2 separate regions of the Homo sapiens genome follow, and region 1 is linked to region 2. Evidence: promoter capture Hi-C in human tissues and cell types (Jung and others, 2019). All regions are on one chromosome and are shown on one strand. The core of a region is centred on a gene start or on the middle of the fragment in contact, and the rest is flanking DNA. Distances in the headings are between cores, read along the strand shown.

Region 1 (6,619 bases), core at 3,611-6,110, 290 kb before region 2:
AGATTCCATGTCAAAAAAATAAATAAAAAATAACAAAATAAAAATAAAGAGATAATGTCAGCCGGGTATTTTGGCTCACACCTGAAATCCCAGCATTTTGGGAGGCCAAGGCCGATGGATGGCTTGAGCTCAGGGTTTCAAGGCCAGCCTGGACAACATAGCAAAACCCCGCCTCTACAAAAAATAAAAAGATTAGCTGAGTGTGGTGGTGCACACCTGTGGTCCCAGCTACTTGGGAGGCTGAGGTGGGAAGACTGCTTGAGCCTGGGAGATTGAGGCTTCACTGAGCCATGATTCCTCCACTAACACTCCAGCCTGGGTGACAAGGGCAAGAACTTGTCCCCCCCCCCCCAAAAAAAAAGAGAGAGACAGTGTCTCGGCCATGCACGTGGCTCACACCTGTAATCCCAGCACTCCAGGAGGCTGAGGTGGGAGAATCCCTTGTAGCCAGGAGTTTGAGACCAGCCTGGGCAACACAGGCCCCAGGGATCCTCCTGACTCAGCCTCCCAAATAGCTGGGGCTACAGGTGCACACCACAACATCTGCCTAATTTTTAAGTTTTTTTGTAGAGATGGAGTCTCGCTATGTTGCCCACGCTGGTCTTGAACTCCTGGCTTTTTTTTTTTTTTTTTTGAGATGGAGTCTTGCTCTGTCACCCAGGCTAGAGTGCAGTGGTGTGATCTCAGCTCACTGCAACCTCCACCTCTCGGGTTCAAGTGATTCTCCTGCCCCAGCCTTCTGAGTAGCTGGGATTACAGGCACCTGCCACCGCGCCCAGCTAATTTTTTTGTATTTTTTAGTAGAGACGGGGTTTCACCATCTTGGCCAGGCTGGTCTCGAACCACTGACCTCATGATCCACCCACCTTGGCCTCTCAAAGTGCTGGGATTACAGGCATGAGCCACCGCACCCGGCTAAACTCCTGGCTTTAAACGATCCTCCTGCTTTGGCCTCCCAAATGGTGGGATTACAGGCATGAGCCACCTTGCAAGGCCTGAAAATTCTTCGTAATGTAAGCTCTAAAGTATTACATGAGTTTGAGTGTCTCATTTCACATCCATAATACAGCAAACAACATGAAATATATACATCTCTTGAAGCTGTTGCTCACATCTTAATTGCTTTGGGTGGCTACCCACCAGTGGCCCAAGGTGGATGGAGGTTAGGGTTTTAAATTAGATCTCAATAGTTGTAAACTAGAATTTTAAACCAGGGTTCTGTCATCTCTTGTGTCCTAGTCCACTAGTTCTTATCCTTAGAACCCTCAAGTCCTGCTCTAGCTGTATCATGACTCCTCTTTTGCCCACTTTCCACTCTGGTAGTTTGAGGAGCAGCAGGCTTTTGAGAAGAGCCGCAAGTTCCTTCGGCAGCTGGAGATTTGCTTTGCAGAGAACCCCTCACACCACCAGAAGATTATCAAGGTCCTCCAAGGCTGTGCAGACTGCCTTCCCCAGGAGATCACCGAGGTATTCTTTCCTGTCCTGCTTTCTTCCTGTTGTCTTCCGGGCCTTAGGCCTTTCCCTTGTCTCTTTCCCCAACCTACTCCATACCTTTTTGCCTCTGGAGGCTCATGGGCTTCCTGGAGGAGATGAAAAAGGCAAGGACTTTTCAGGCTCACCCAAAGCATAAAGCACTGGGATAGGGAGGGATTGCTACCTGAAACCGGAGCCTGTCTGATCTTCACAGGCTCAGGAATGCCATGGATGTGCTGGAAGGGATGTTCAGCGAAGGAGGTTCTGGGACCTGGGAGGGGCCTTACCTCCTTGCTCTGCTTGGAATAGTGCCCTAGCTGGAGATCAGTAGGGTGGAGTGGAGAGTGGAATCATTAGGAATCAAATCCAGTATTAATACCCTTCCCCTGGCCGGATGTGGTGGCTCACACCTGTAATCTGAACACTTTGGGAGGCAGATCACCTGAGGTTGGGAGTTGGAGACCAGCCTGAACAACATGGAGAAACCCTGTCTCTATTAAAAATACAAAATTAGCTGGGCATGGTGGTGCATGCCTGTAATCCCAGCTACTCGGGAGGCTGAGGCAGGAGAATCGCTTGAACCTGGGAGGCAGAGGTTGCGGTGAGTGGAGATCGCACCGTTGCACTCCAGCCTGTGCAACATGAGCGAAACTCCAGCTAAAAAAATAAATATATAAATAAATACATAAATAAATAAAACAAAATAAAATCTTTGGAGCAGTAGCTAGGCAAAGGGGCACTCAGGAGGCTCACACCAGAAGATCACTACTTGAGCCCAGGAGTCTGAGGCTATAGTGTACCACTATGGTCATACCTGTGTAAACAGGCACTGCACTCCAACCTGGGCAAGATAATTTGTGTTATCTGTGAGACCTTGTCTCTTTTTTTTTTTTTTTTTGAGGTGGAGTCTCACTTTCGTCCAGCCTGGAGTGTAGTGGCACAATCTCAGCTCACTGTAACCTCTGCCTCCTGGGTTCAAGCAATTCTCATGCCTCAGCTTCCCAAGTAGCTGAGACTACAGGCCCCCGCCACAACATTCCGCTAATTTTTGTATTTTTAGTAGAGATGGGGTTTCACCATGTTCACTAGGCTAATCTGGAACTCCTGACCTCAAGTGATCCCTGCCCTCGGCCTCCAAAGTACTGGGATTACAGGTGTAAGCCACCACACCTGGCCTCTTTTTGTTTGTTTCTTTTTGAGACAGGGTCTCGCTATGTTGCCCAGGCTGATCTTGAACCCTTGGGCTCAAGTGATCCTCACACCTCAGCCTCCCAAGTAGCTGGGTTTACAGGCATGTACCATTGCACCCAACTGAAACCCTTTCTCTTAAAAAAACAAAATTGTTGGAGCAGATATGCATGTGGGTTGACTTGGTGAGCATCAGGCAGGGCTTCTTCCTTTGGTGGGCCCCAAAGGCATAGGCGGTCAGGACACCTTTGACCCAGAAGATCATCCCTGTGGGTCTGTGACAGCAAATCCTACAAGAGCAAGGAGCCCCATGAAGCCACCCAGAACAGGACTGTCAGGACCACCAGAAAGAGAGATGCCTATTTCAGGTGAGTGATCTGCCAACCCAGCCCTTCTGTTTTTCAGTCTCGTTCTTCTATACCCCAGACAGGAACCTCCATGAGCCTGGATAAATAACACCCTTTTCAGGGATGGACATACCACCTCTTTCACTGATGGACCCATAAGAAGCCCTTCTCCTGTTCAGGCTTTTTCTATCCTATGGCCTCACTCCTCTTGCAGAATTAAGAGTGTGTGGCCGGGCGCAGTGGCTCACGCCTGTAATCCCAACACTTTGGGAGGCCGAGGTGGGTGGATCACCTGAGGTCAGGAATTCAAGACCAGCCTGGCCAACATGGTGAAACCCCATCTCTATTAAAAATACAAAAAAAAAAAAAAATAGCTGGGCCCGGTGGTGGGCACCTATAATCCCACCTACTTGGGAGGCTGAGGCAGGAGAATCCCTTGAACCCCGGAGGCGGAGGTTGCCATGACCTGAGATCACGCTACTGTACTCCAGCCTGGGCAACAAGACCAAAAATCTCTCAAAAAAAAAAAAAAAAGTGCTACAAATTTCACATGATTCAACATTGTCTTGTGTTTTATTCCTAAAACCCTTCCCCCATCTCTAAATCTAGTGTAATCTACATCCTAAAGACTGGGCCGTTCTCAGCTTTGGCAGTAGGACTTTATATCTTTGCATAAGTGACATTATGCCCACCATCTCCACCCAACTCCTTTATTATTTATATTTTCTTGCAGAGATGGGGTCTCACCATATTGCCCAGGCTAGTCTCAAACTCCTGGCAGTCCCACCACTTTGGCTTCCCAAAGTGCGGACGTTATAGGTGTGAGCCACCATGCCCAGCACTCTTTTTTATTAGAATTTTTGCACAGTACCTGGCCACAGGTAATTTCTCGTGCTTAGGTGCATCTTGATCCTCACAGTACCCTGGGATCCTTATTTTCCTCCTAAGCAGGATTGGCAGTGGGGGGCACTTTGCCATCCCCTCGAGAAGTGACTCTTACAGAACGGCTCCTCCTGGATGGCCCACCACCTCATTCACCAGAGACTCCTCAATTTCCCCCCACAACTGGAGCTGTACTGTACACTGTTAAGAGAAACCAGGTTGGGCCTGAGGTTCGCTCCTGCCCCAAGGCATCCCCCAGACTTCAGAAAGAGAGGGAGGGCCAAAAGGCAGTGAGTGAGTCAGAGGCTTTGATGCTGGTCTGGGATGCATCAGAAACTGAGAAATTGCCTGGTACCGTGGAACCCCCTGCTTCCTTCCTGAGTCCTGTTTCCTCAAAGACCAGAGATGCAGGGAGAAGACATGTGTCCGGGAAACCAGACACTCAAGAGAGATGGCTGCCCTCAAGCAGAGCTAGGGTGAAGACAAGAGACAGGACGTGCCCTGTCCATGAATCTCCATCAGGAATTGACACCTCAGAGACTTCTCCCAAAGCCCCTAGAGGGGGTTTGGCTAAAGACAGTGGAACACAGGGCAAGGGTCCAGAGGGGGAACAGCAGCCAAAGGCCACAGAAGCTACGGTGTGTGCCAATAACAGCAAGGTCAGCTCCACTGGGGAAAAGGTTGTCCTGTGGACAAGGTAGGTAAGGGTGGATGATGTGTGTTTGGAAAAGAGCATAGACCACATCCATGTGGCTCCCTAGGGTTAATCATGATACCTGGGTTACAGGGAAGCTGACCGTGTGATCCTCACCATGTGCCAGGAGCAAGGGGCACAGCCACAGACCTTCAGCATCATCTCCCAGCAGCTGGGAAATAAGACCCCTGCTGAGGTAGGTGCGGGTTGGGGTGAAGACCTGGCAAAAAGAGGTCAAGGTGGCCAACTAAGAGACAGAAAGGCCAAAGAAGGAGTTTTCATATCCAAGATAAGTGGTTTTTGTAAAGGTTTGATCTAAGGAAAGGCTTGACTCATCAGGGTGGTAGTGGTTCTAGGAGAAGAGAAAGGACACTGCATTTTTAGGTGGAAGCCCGTTTCCATTCTAGCTTTTTTTTTTTTTTTGAGCCAGAGTCTTGCTCTGTCGCCCAGGCTGGAGTGCAGTGGCATGATCGTGGCTCACTGCAACCTCCACGTCCCAGGTTCAAGCAATTCTCCTGCCTCAGCCTCTCGAGTGGCTGGGATTACAGGTGCCCACCACCCAGCCAATTTTTCTATTTTTAGTAGAGATAGGGCTTCACCATGTTGGCCAGGCTGGTCTCGAACTCCTGACCTCAAGTGATCTACCTGCCTCGGCCTCCCAAAGTGCTGGGATTACAGGTGTGAGCCACTGTGCCCGGCCATTCTAGTTTTGTTTTTAGGAGTCGTGTGACTTTGGGCAAAACATTTAGCCTCTTGAGTTTCCTTATCTATAGTGACATAGCTCTCTCAACCTTGCTGTGTGGAATAAACAAAAGATTTTGCAAATCAATATATAGTGCTTCATAAATGTTAACATGTTACTAAGGATCAGTGAATACAGCCCTCCTCCTTTCTTAGGTTTCCCACCATTTTCGAGAACTCATGCAGCTCTTCCACACTGCCTGTGAAGCCAGCTCTGAGGATGAGGATGATGCAACCAGTACCAGCAATGCAGACCAGCTGTCTGACCATGGGGACCTTCTGTCTGAAGAGGAGCTGGATGAATGAGACTCTGGGAATCATCTACACAGGACCAAACCCAACAGGCGCCCTGGCACCGGGGAGGCGGGTAGTTGTACTCTGCTTGTACAGTCCTTGAGCCCAGTTTACAGATCTGGAGAGCAGGAGGCCAGGACAAGGACAAAGGCTGGAGGATGGAGTAGGACCCAGGGGCTCTGCCATCCTAGGCATCATTCAAGGTCTTTTATGAAGACTTTACAGATGTCCTCTGTAAGTAGCATCGAGAGTGGAGTTCAGCTCCTTTCTCTACTTTTTTTTGGTCTGATGGCACATATTTATTGTTCTGTGGTCTAATCACAGTGTTTCTAAATGTAAAAAGTGCATATGTTGGTGTAGCTAGTCCCGCGACATTGAGCTCCTCTGCATGAAGACACTGGGCTCCTGCATCCAGCTGTTTTTATTGCAAACTAGCTCCTTTCTCCCACACTGGGAACTTTAGTCCACGAGGCTGTCACCACCCTGGTAGCACTGGGCCAGGCTTTGTAGCTCCTGCAGCAGCTCTGCTACGTCATCGTGCTCCACTCCAGCATCCATGAAGCTGGCCCAGCGCCGCAAGTCGAGTTTGGTGAGGTCTCTGGCCAAGGCTTCCAGGGTCTGGTGCAGGGACGAAGAGGAACACAGTGCCCCAAACACTGGGATGCTCTCCACTGCTGTGGAGGGAGAGGAAACAGAGACCTGTAGATGGATGATTATTCTGCCCTGGGACTCTGCCAAACTGATAAGGAAGTCCAACCTTAGTAGACTTGATTGTAAACTCAACAAATTTGGTGTATTGTCCCCTTAGTACACCAGTACTCCAGAGGAAGAATGCTTTTCTTGGGAGCCATAGGGTGAATAAAGGAATGTTTAACTGTGGACTTTTTCAGCACTTTTAATCCAGGAATGGAGATAGTAAAAACTCTCCCATACTTGAAATCTCAGTTTTCTTCACCTCCTACATACCTGCTCCCTTGGGGGAACCATCCAGAACCATACC
Region 2 (6,525 bases), core at 3,452-5,951:
AGGGTTCCAAGGGAGCGGGTGCTGGAGCCTGAGAACGTGGGGTGCAGTCAGCCAAGCCCGGCCCTGCCCTGCGCACTGCCGGGTCCCACGCCCTCCTGGCTCACCTGGCTTCACCGACGCCTCCACCACGCTCCAGGGGCTGCTCCTGCGCTGCCCGGTGATGAGGTCCTTCCGGAAAGGCTTCAGCCCGTCCGCCACCAGGGCGTGGAGGGCCGGGCAGAGGGTGGTCAGCACCAGGTGCCCCACATCCGGGCTCAGCCGGCTATCACCCAACTGGGCCTGGAGGTGGCGCGATGCCGATGGCTCCAGAGATCCCTCCAGACACCTCCCAGCCACCTCCCGCCAACCATTCCCGCACCCCCCGCGGAGCTCCATTACTCTCCTCATCCCAACAGCCTCCCCCCAGCCACCTTCACCTTCTGCACCAAGTTCCGGGCGGCCCCGAAATGCGAGATGATTTTATCAACGGAGACGCTGACGGCTATCAGAAGACCTGGGAGGAGTGGGAAAGGGAAGACGCTAGGAGGCCGCGCCCCTACCCAGGCTTGCCCGAGGGGCGTGGAGAGACTGCCTTCGGACAGCCTGAGAGCAGGGCCGGGGGCGAAGGGCAGTTTATTCGGAAGCGCGGGGTCGGGAGTCAGGGTGCCCTACCTTTCTTCTGCTCCTGCAGCTGACCAGTCCCACTCTGGGCTTCTGCCATCCACAGCCGCTGGGCTCCGGGGACACCGGCGAAGGACCACGAACTACGGACTGGCGTAAGGGAAGAAGGGCGCGGTAACACTTACCAAGTGTTATTCCGAGGACTCCGGGCTCCCGCACAAGTTGTCTCCGGCGGGTCTGCAGTGCTGTGTCCCCGAAGGGTCTTGGGGAGAGGAGGCGCAGGACCGCCTGAAGCACGGGGTAGCTCGACCCGAGCCCCGGAGTGAAATCTCGCACACTTCCCAGCACTCGCTGTCCCCCAGCCCCATCCCGGTTCCCTGTGCCCTCCCTCAGGGCACAGCCCCCACCTCCAGGATCCCGGAACTCCGGGAGCGGGATGGCCGCGCTCACCTCCCGCCTGCCCTGCTAGGGCCTGTAGGGCGGGAGAGGACGGGGCGCGGGGAGGGAGGTGTAGCCCAGCGCACCGCCCCGGGGCCCAGTCCTGCCTGCGGAGCCCCGGGGAGCACGTGGGCGGCATGGACCAATGGAAAGACAGACAGGGGAAAGGGAGGAGACGGAGGGAGGCGAGACCCGAGGATTGGGAGGCTGGAAGGCGCCGGAAAGGGGAAACCCGGGTCCCGCAGCAGCCTCTTGGCGGAGGGTGCCCTCTTCATCCCGCGTGGGACTGGACTCGCGGAGAGGGCGTGGCCAGAACCTCTAGTGCCAATGAGCTCCCGGGAGCTTCACCCTCCACCCCTCCCTAGCAAGGTCGGGGGGCAGGCCCGAGCTGCACAGGCCAAGGAATTCCACAGAGGGTGTGACCCAAAGCCCCTAACAACAGACTCGCTGGGACCCCCTAGACTTGGCATGGAGGCTGGGTAAGCCCGCGTCCACTATGCCCAGGTGGGTCTGGAGGGAGAGGGGGCCGGCCCACGGAGCAGGAAAGGCAACAACTTCCCCCTCCAGCACTAGGAACGGGGCCAGACTCCCCAAGGCCGACAAACTTGCTTGGAGTCGGCTTAAACTGAAGGGCGGGACTAAGCTGGGCAACCCCGGAAAAAAAGCGAAAACGGGGCCGGGCGAGAGTGGGCGGGGCGGCCCGCCTGAGGCGTGGCCCGCGGGGCTAGCCCGGGTCCGTCTTACGTAGCCTGGGCGGAGGCGATGGGCTCCTGGTCCAGCGAGGGGCCTTCGGCGGACGAGGTTGCGGTGGCAGCGGGGGGGCGGGTACCTGGCGGGGTGGGGGAGCCGCGGCGGGGAAGGTGCTACTTCTGGGAAAGAGCGGGGACAGCAGCAGTGCCAGCTCGGGGCTGGCCAGGCAGGGCAAGGCTCCCCGAGTCGGAGGCGAATAGGCTCCCACCGGGGACAGGCGGACGGGCAGCAGCTGCTCCTCTGGGGGGCTCGGCGCCCCCAGCAGCCGCAGCCCGGCGCCGGGCCACCCGGCCAGAGGAGCCAGGAGCAGAGACCCAGCTGCGCCTGCGCCCCCACCCTCCAACAGGGGGCGCCCGTCGGCCGAGAACCGGAAAACCAGGGGCCGAGGGAGCAGGAGGGGACCGGCTGCAGGCGGGATTGGCGGGGCCAGGCGCAGAGGGAAGGAGGGCAGCGGGATGGGCAGCCAGGCAAGAAGGGGCGGGAAGAAGAGGGAGCAAACAGTTAGTCCCATAACCCAATGACCCACCCAGTTTCCCTTTCCCGGAGCGCTCCCTGGTAGAAGGGGCGGGGAGGATGGGTGACACAGAATGGAGGGAAGACAGGGGGCCGGGTTGGAAGCCTAGGAGGCGTGAGCGGCCGAAGCCCAGCCCTCCTCCCGCTTCTTGCGACCTCTTACCCTCCAGGCCGGCCTGCGCGCCCGGCTCCTTCGCGGCTGGGGCCTCCTCGCCAGCCGCTGGGCTGACAGCCCGGCCCTCCTCGGACTGCCCCTCCGCTATGGGCTGCAGTCCAGGTCGGTTCTTCTTCCTTCGGGGAGGGACAGGCGGGGGTGGGGGCCGGGGCGGGACCAAAGCCCAGCCAACTGGGGGGTCTCGAGGCGGGACTGGCGGGGCTGGGGCCCGGCTTCGGGACCGGAGTTCCTTGAAGGTGGTGACTTCCCGAGGAGGTGCCGAGGAGCCGCCCGGCGACCCCGAGGGGGGGAGCTCGGTGTCGGGCGAGAAGACTATGAGCCAGTCACTGCGATCTTTCTTCGCCTGCGGGACAAGGGGCAGCCCTGGGCCCCGCTTGCGCTTCTGGGCCAGCTCGTGGAAGGACGTGATTGTCCGGTGGGGCACCGGCTCCTCGCTGACGTCACTTCTCCATCCTCCATCAATTTTCCCTGCATCTGTTTTCGAGCCAGAATCAGTTATTCTTGTGTTGGTTTTCCAACCAGAGTCGAATTTTTCAGGTTCACTTTTCCAGCTAGAGTTAACATTCCCGTTGTTTTTCCAACCAGTGTTATTGTTTTCAGTGGTTTTCCATTCAGCTTTAGTTTTCTCTGTGTCAATTTTCCAAATTGGGTTAATCTTCCAACTGGGCTCCGTTTTCCCAGCGTCGATTTTCCCATCATCCGCCTCTAAGAGCTCAGAGGTAGGGAGATCCTGCTCCGCCCTCTCGTCCTCTTCCTCCAAGCCTGGGGAAGGGACGTCCTGGCAGGTGGTCAGGGCGTTGCAGTTCGAGTCCAGGCCAGGATCGGGTGAAGAAGAAGCTCCGGAGCAGGAATCAGGAGAGCAGCAGAAGCTGTCCGGTGAGCAGGTGCCAGGGCCTGCTGAAGCCAGTGGGGAGCCCTGCTCCAGGGGGATGATACTGGGCTGAGGGTGGGCATCCTCATCACCAGGGAGGTCCCGCAAGTAGACTGAGACAGGGGACTCATCGGGGCTAAGATCTGAGCAGGAGCTGAGTGAGGAGGAGCAGCCTGGGTCTGAGGGAGAGGCAGCCCCCTCTTCCTCCTGTGACGGGTCCTGCCGGTTTTCTAGGCCCGGACCGTGCTCCTGGCAGCACCGGCAGGGCACAGCTGGGCTGTTGGAATTGGCGTCCACCAGGGTGCCACTGCAGGGGCCCCTGCTCTCCTTGCCCCCAGTGTCTCCTGGAGGAGGGGGTGTGCTCAAAGGCCCCTCCTGTAGCTCAGGACGGCGGGACAAGTGCAGGCCCAGGGAGACGTGCTGGAGGTGGATGTGGTTGAGGTTGCAGAGTAAAGCTCTCTGAGGGGACAGCATGATGCTAGCGGCGATGGGATGGCTTCTAGAGAACCAGAAGGGTAGGGTCTCTCACATCCACCTACCTGGCAACCACAGGTGCAGACCTAGAAGACAGAGGTGGTGAAGCCCGGCCAGTGAGGACAAGAGCTGCGGGGAAGGACACCGAGGTGACTTGACGGCAGCAGCAGGCCTGAAGGCTCTGGCTGCTTTGGAAGATATTTCAATGAGATGCAAATCGCAATCGACTGACCATTAGTTTCCACTGCAGTGTTTGCAGATGGAGTCGAATGTAACCCCCCGGGAATGGAGCCGGGAGGGTCAGAGAACGCGGCTGCGCTCTGGATCTCCGAAGGGGGGCGGGGGCCTGGAAGAGGTCCGGGCCCAGAATGGACCTCCAGGTCCCTGCTGCCGCAATCTGGCCCTGCCCTCCAGCCTACCCCTTACTCCCAGAGGAAGGGACCCAGGGAGACCCACCCAGATGCCCTGAAAGGAGGTGGAGGATGGGGGTGGGGCAATACGCAGAGTTTGTCTGGTGAATGCAGGAAAGGGGTGGGGGCTGGAGAGGAAAAGGATGGAGCAGCCGTCAGCTTGTCAACTCCGCATCTGCTGGCTGCCTCGGCCGGGCTCCAGCCTGCGCCCTCGCCCCTCGGAACAGCGGTATGTCCATTCTCTCCGCATTCGTCTCCATCGTTCAGCCACCACCGCACCCTTTCTCTATTCATTTCTCCTGCTCCCTTGTCCTGCCCCGCCCCTCGTGCCCAGGTCCATCGGTCTACACCCATGGGCCGAGCCCTCCTCACCAGGGTCCTCCTGGAACCGCTCCGGCCTTGGGCTTGTCCGCGGCTCCCACGGTCCCCGCCCGGCGGGGCACAGAGCGGGAGGGGAGGGGCACTAGCACAACCTACCCTGCGCTGCGCAGCTGCACCCCTTCGCGCATGGGCGTGGCGTAGCTCAGACCCGCCCCCAGCGTTTAGCGTCTTTTGTCACCCACCTAGAGGGTTTGATATATCCTAAGCTTTTGGCCCCTGGGTCCTGGTTCCGTGCAGCGAGTCCTCCCAGCACCCCACCCTGCACATTCTGGAAAGAGCCAGACTCTGGCTGGGCCGAGCAAGAACAGAACCACAAGAAGGTTACACGATTATTTATTGAGAGCCTCCTCTCCCCGCCCTTGCAATCTCTAGGTCACTTTCTCCGCTTGTAGATTTTGCGCGCAAGCCCCAGAAAGACGGCTGGGGGCAGGGGTGCTGCGTACTGTTCAATGAGAGCCATAATGTGGCTGTAACTGTCTTCCTCATATTGCAAGAACACTGCTGGCAGATCCAGCTCCTCATATAGCGCCTTCACCCGGGCCACTTTCTCAGCCTCCTTCTGCCCGTAATTTTCCTGGAAGAGGTTGAAAGACAGGAAAACGGGCTTGGCCTTCCCCAGAGCCTCCAGGACCCCTCCACTCCCCTCATTCACATATTCCAGAACATCTCCAAAGCCACCCACTCCTTTCCTCCCTCCAATTTTCAAGTGTCTCTACGTAGCTAAAATCCCAAGCTTCCCTTCCCTATCCCAAATATTGCCTCATACCAGGCATCCTCTACTCCAGGGTTTCTCCACCTTGGCACTATTGAAATTTGGGACCAGATAATCCTGTCTGGGGGAGCTGTTCTGTGTACTACATGTTTGGCAACATCTTTGGCTCCTGCCAACTAGATGTCTGTACCACATGCACACACACAGAGTTGTAATGACAATGGCAAAAAATGTCTGCTGACATTGCCAAATGTCCCCTCGGGAGGAAAACTGCCTCTAGTTGAGAACCACTGCTCTATCCCTTTCCACCAACTCAGGGACCCACCACCCTCTCTCAGGCACCTTCAGGATCTGGTACTGTTCTGGAGTGGCCCGTTGCAGACACTGAACCACCAGCCAGCTGCATTTGTTGTCCTGGATGTCAGTGCCAATTTTGCCGGTCACACTGGGGTCCCCAAAGAGGTCAAGGTAATCATCCTGGGCAGGGAGGGGGAGGGCAGCAAAAGAGGAAGGATGAGGTTCCTGGGCAGAGGAGGAGTGAAGCTGGTGCCTGTTCTCTGCTACTGCCTCCTGCCTTCTTACCTGAATCTGAAAGAACTCCCCCATCTCCAGCAGGATCTTCTTGGCATTGGCGTGCTCCTTCTCGCCATCAATTCCTGCCTGCAGGGAAAGGGGGGTTAATAAGCCAAACCCCAGGGGTGCCGGCATCTTCCTGGCTGCTTCCTCCCATGGGGTCTTGCCCTACTGCAGCCCCAAATCTTTCCTCTCTCTTCAGACATCTTGGCTTCCCTGACCTAGACAGTCCTGACTGATGGTCCAACCTCAATCCCACTTATTTTTGGCTAGGCCTTCCTGGGAGTCATAAAAGAGATGAATCCATTCTAGAGGTGCACAGCCTGTCTCTTCCCTCACAAATGTCAGTCCCCAAGTCATTCTGATCCACCTTCCTAATATTTTTGCCACCTCCAACTTCTTTCAAGATGAAAAGGAAATGTAGAGAAGCAAGGTCAGGGTAGACACTTAATCCCACTGACTGTCTTTAATCCACTCTTCTCCCTCTCAACCTGGATGATCTCCACACTCCTATCCATACTCAGATACAGGATATATTGTTCCCCTATTATGTGCTAAGCACTTTCATATCCCTTGCCTTGCTTAATCTTTACAGTCCTGTGAAGTAGGAATTTTATCCCCAGCTGAG

Evidence for each region. Contacts are between HindIII fragments. The study calls those that stand out against the background at their distance.
Region 1: a contact is called between a fragment that was not itself captured here and the fragment with the promoter of RUSC1 in region 2, in 1 of the 25 tissues and cell types used here (dorsolateral prefrontal cortex).

Annotation. Positions count from the first base shown.
Region 1 is chr1:155,613,733-155,620,351 of GRCh38, reverse strand. It overlaps MSTO1 (misato mitochondrial distribution and morphology regulator 1), which reads right to left. Exons shown (of 14, transcript NM_018116.4): 13 at 6,586-6,619; 14 at 5,401-6,293. The coding sequence ends at 6,079. It also overlaps the pseudogene LOC100419798. Among named protein-coding and RNA genes, the nearest start is that of MSTO1, 6.8 kb to the right of the region's middle. The HindIII fragment of the contact is 7,084 bases long and covers 1,319-6,619 here.
Region 2 is chr1:155,319,070-155,325,594 of GRCh38, reverse strand. RUSC1 (RUN and SH3 domain containing 1) reads right to left here and starts at 4,701. Exons shown (of 10, transcript NM_001105203.2): 1 at 4,604-4,701; 2 at 2,465-3,907; 3 at 652-750; 4 at 417-493; 5 at 105-279; 6 at 1-28. The coding sequence starts at 3,821. It overlaps FDPS (farnesyl diphosphate synthase), which reads right to left. Exons shown (of 11, transcript NM_002004.4): 9 at 5,907-5,984; 10 at 5,667-5,801; 11 at 4,930-5,186. The coding sequence ends at 4,986. RUSC1-AS1 (RUSC1 antisense RNA 1) reads left to right here and starts at 1,419. Exons shown (of 6, transcript NR_145424.1): 1 at 1,419-1,517; 2 at 3,158-3,352; 3 at 3,900-3,970; 4 at 5,663-5,792. RefSeq lists enhancers at 630-839, 3,011-3,994 and silencers at 850-899, 920-1,289, 1,630-1,829, 1,870-2,099, 4,610-4,759 and 1 more. The HindIII fragment of the contact is 15,399 bases long and covers 1-5,082 here.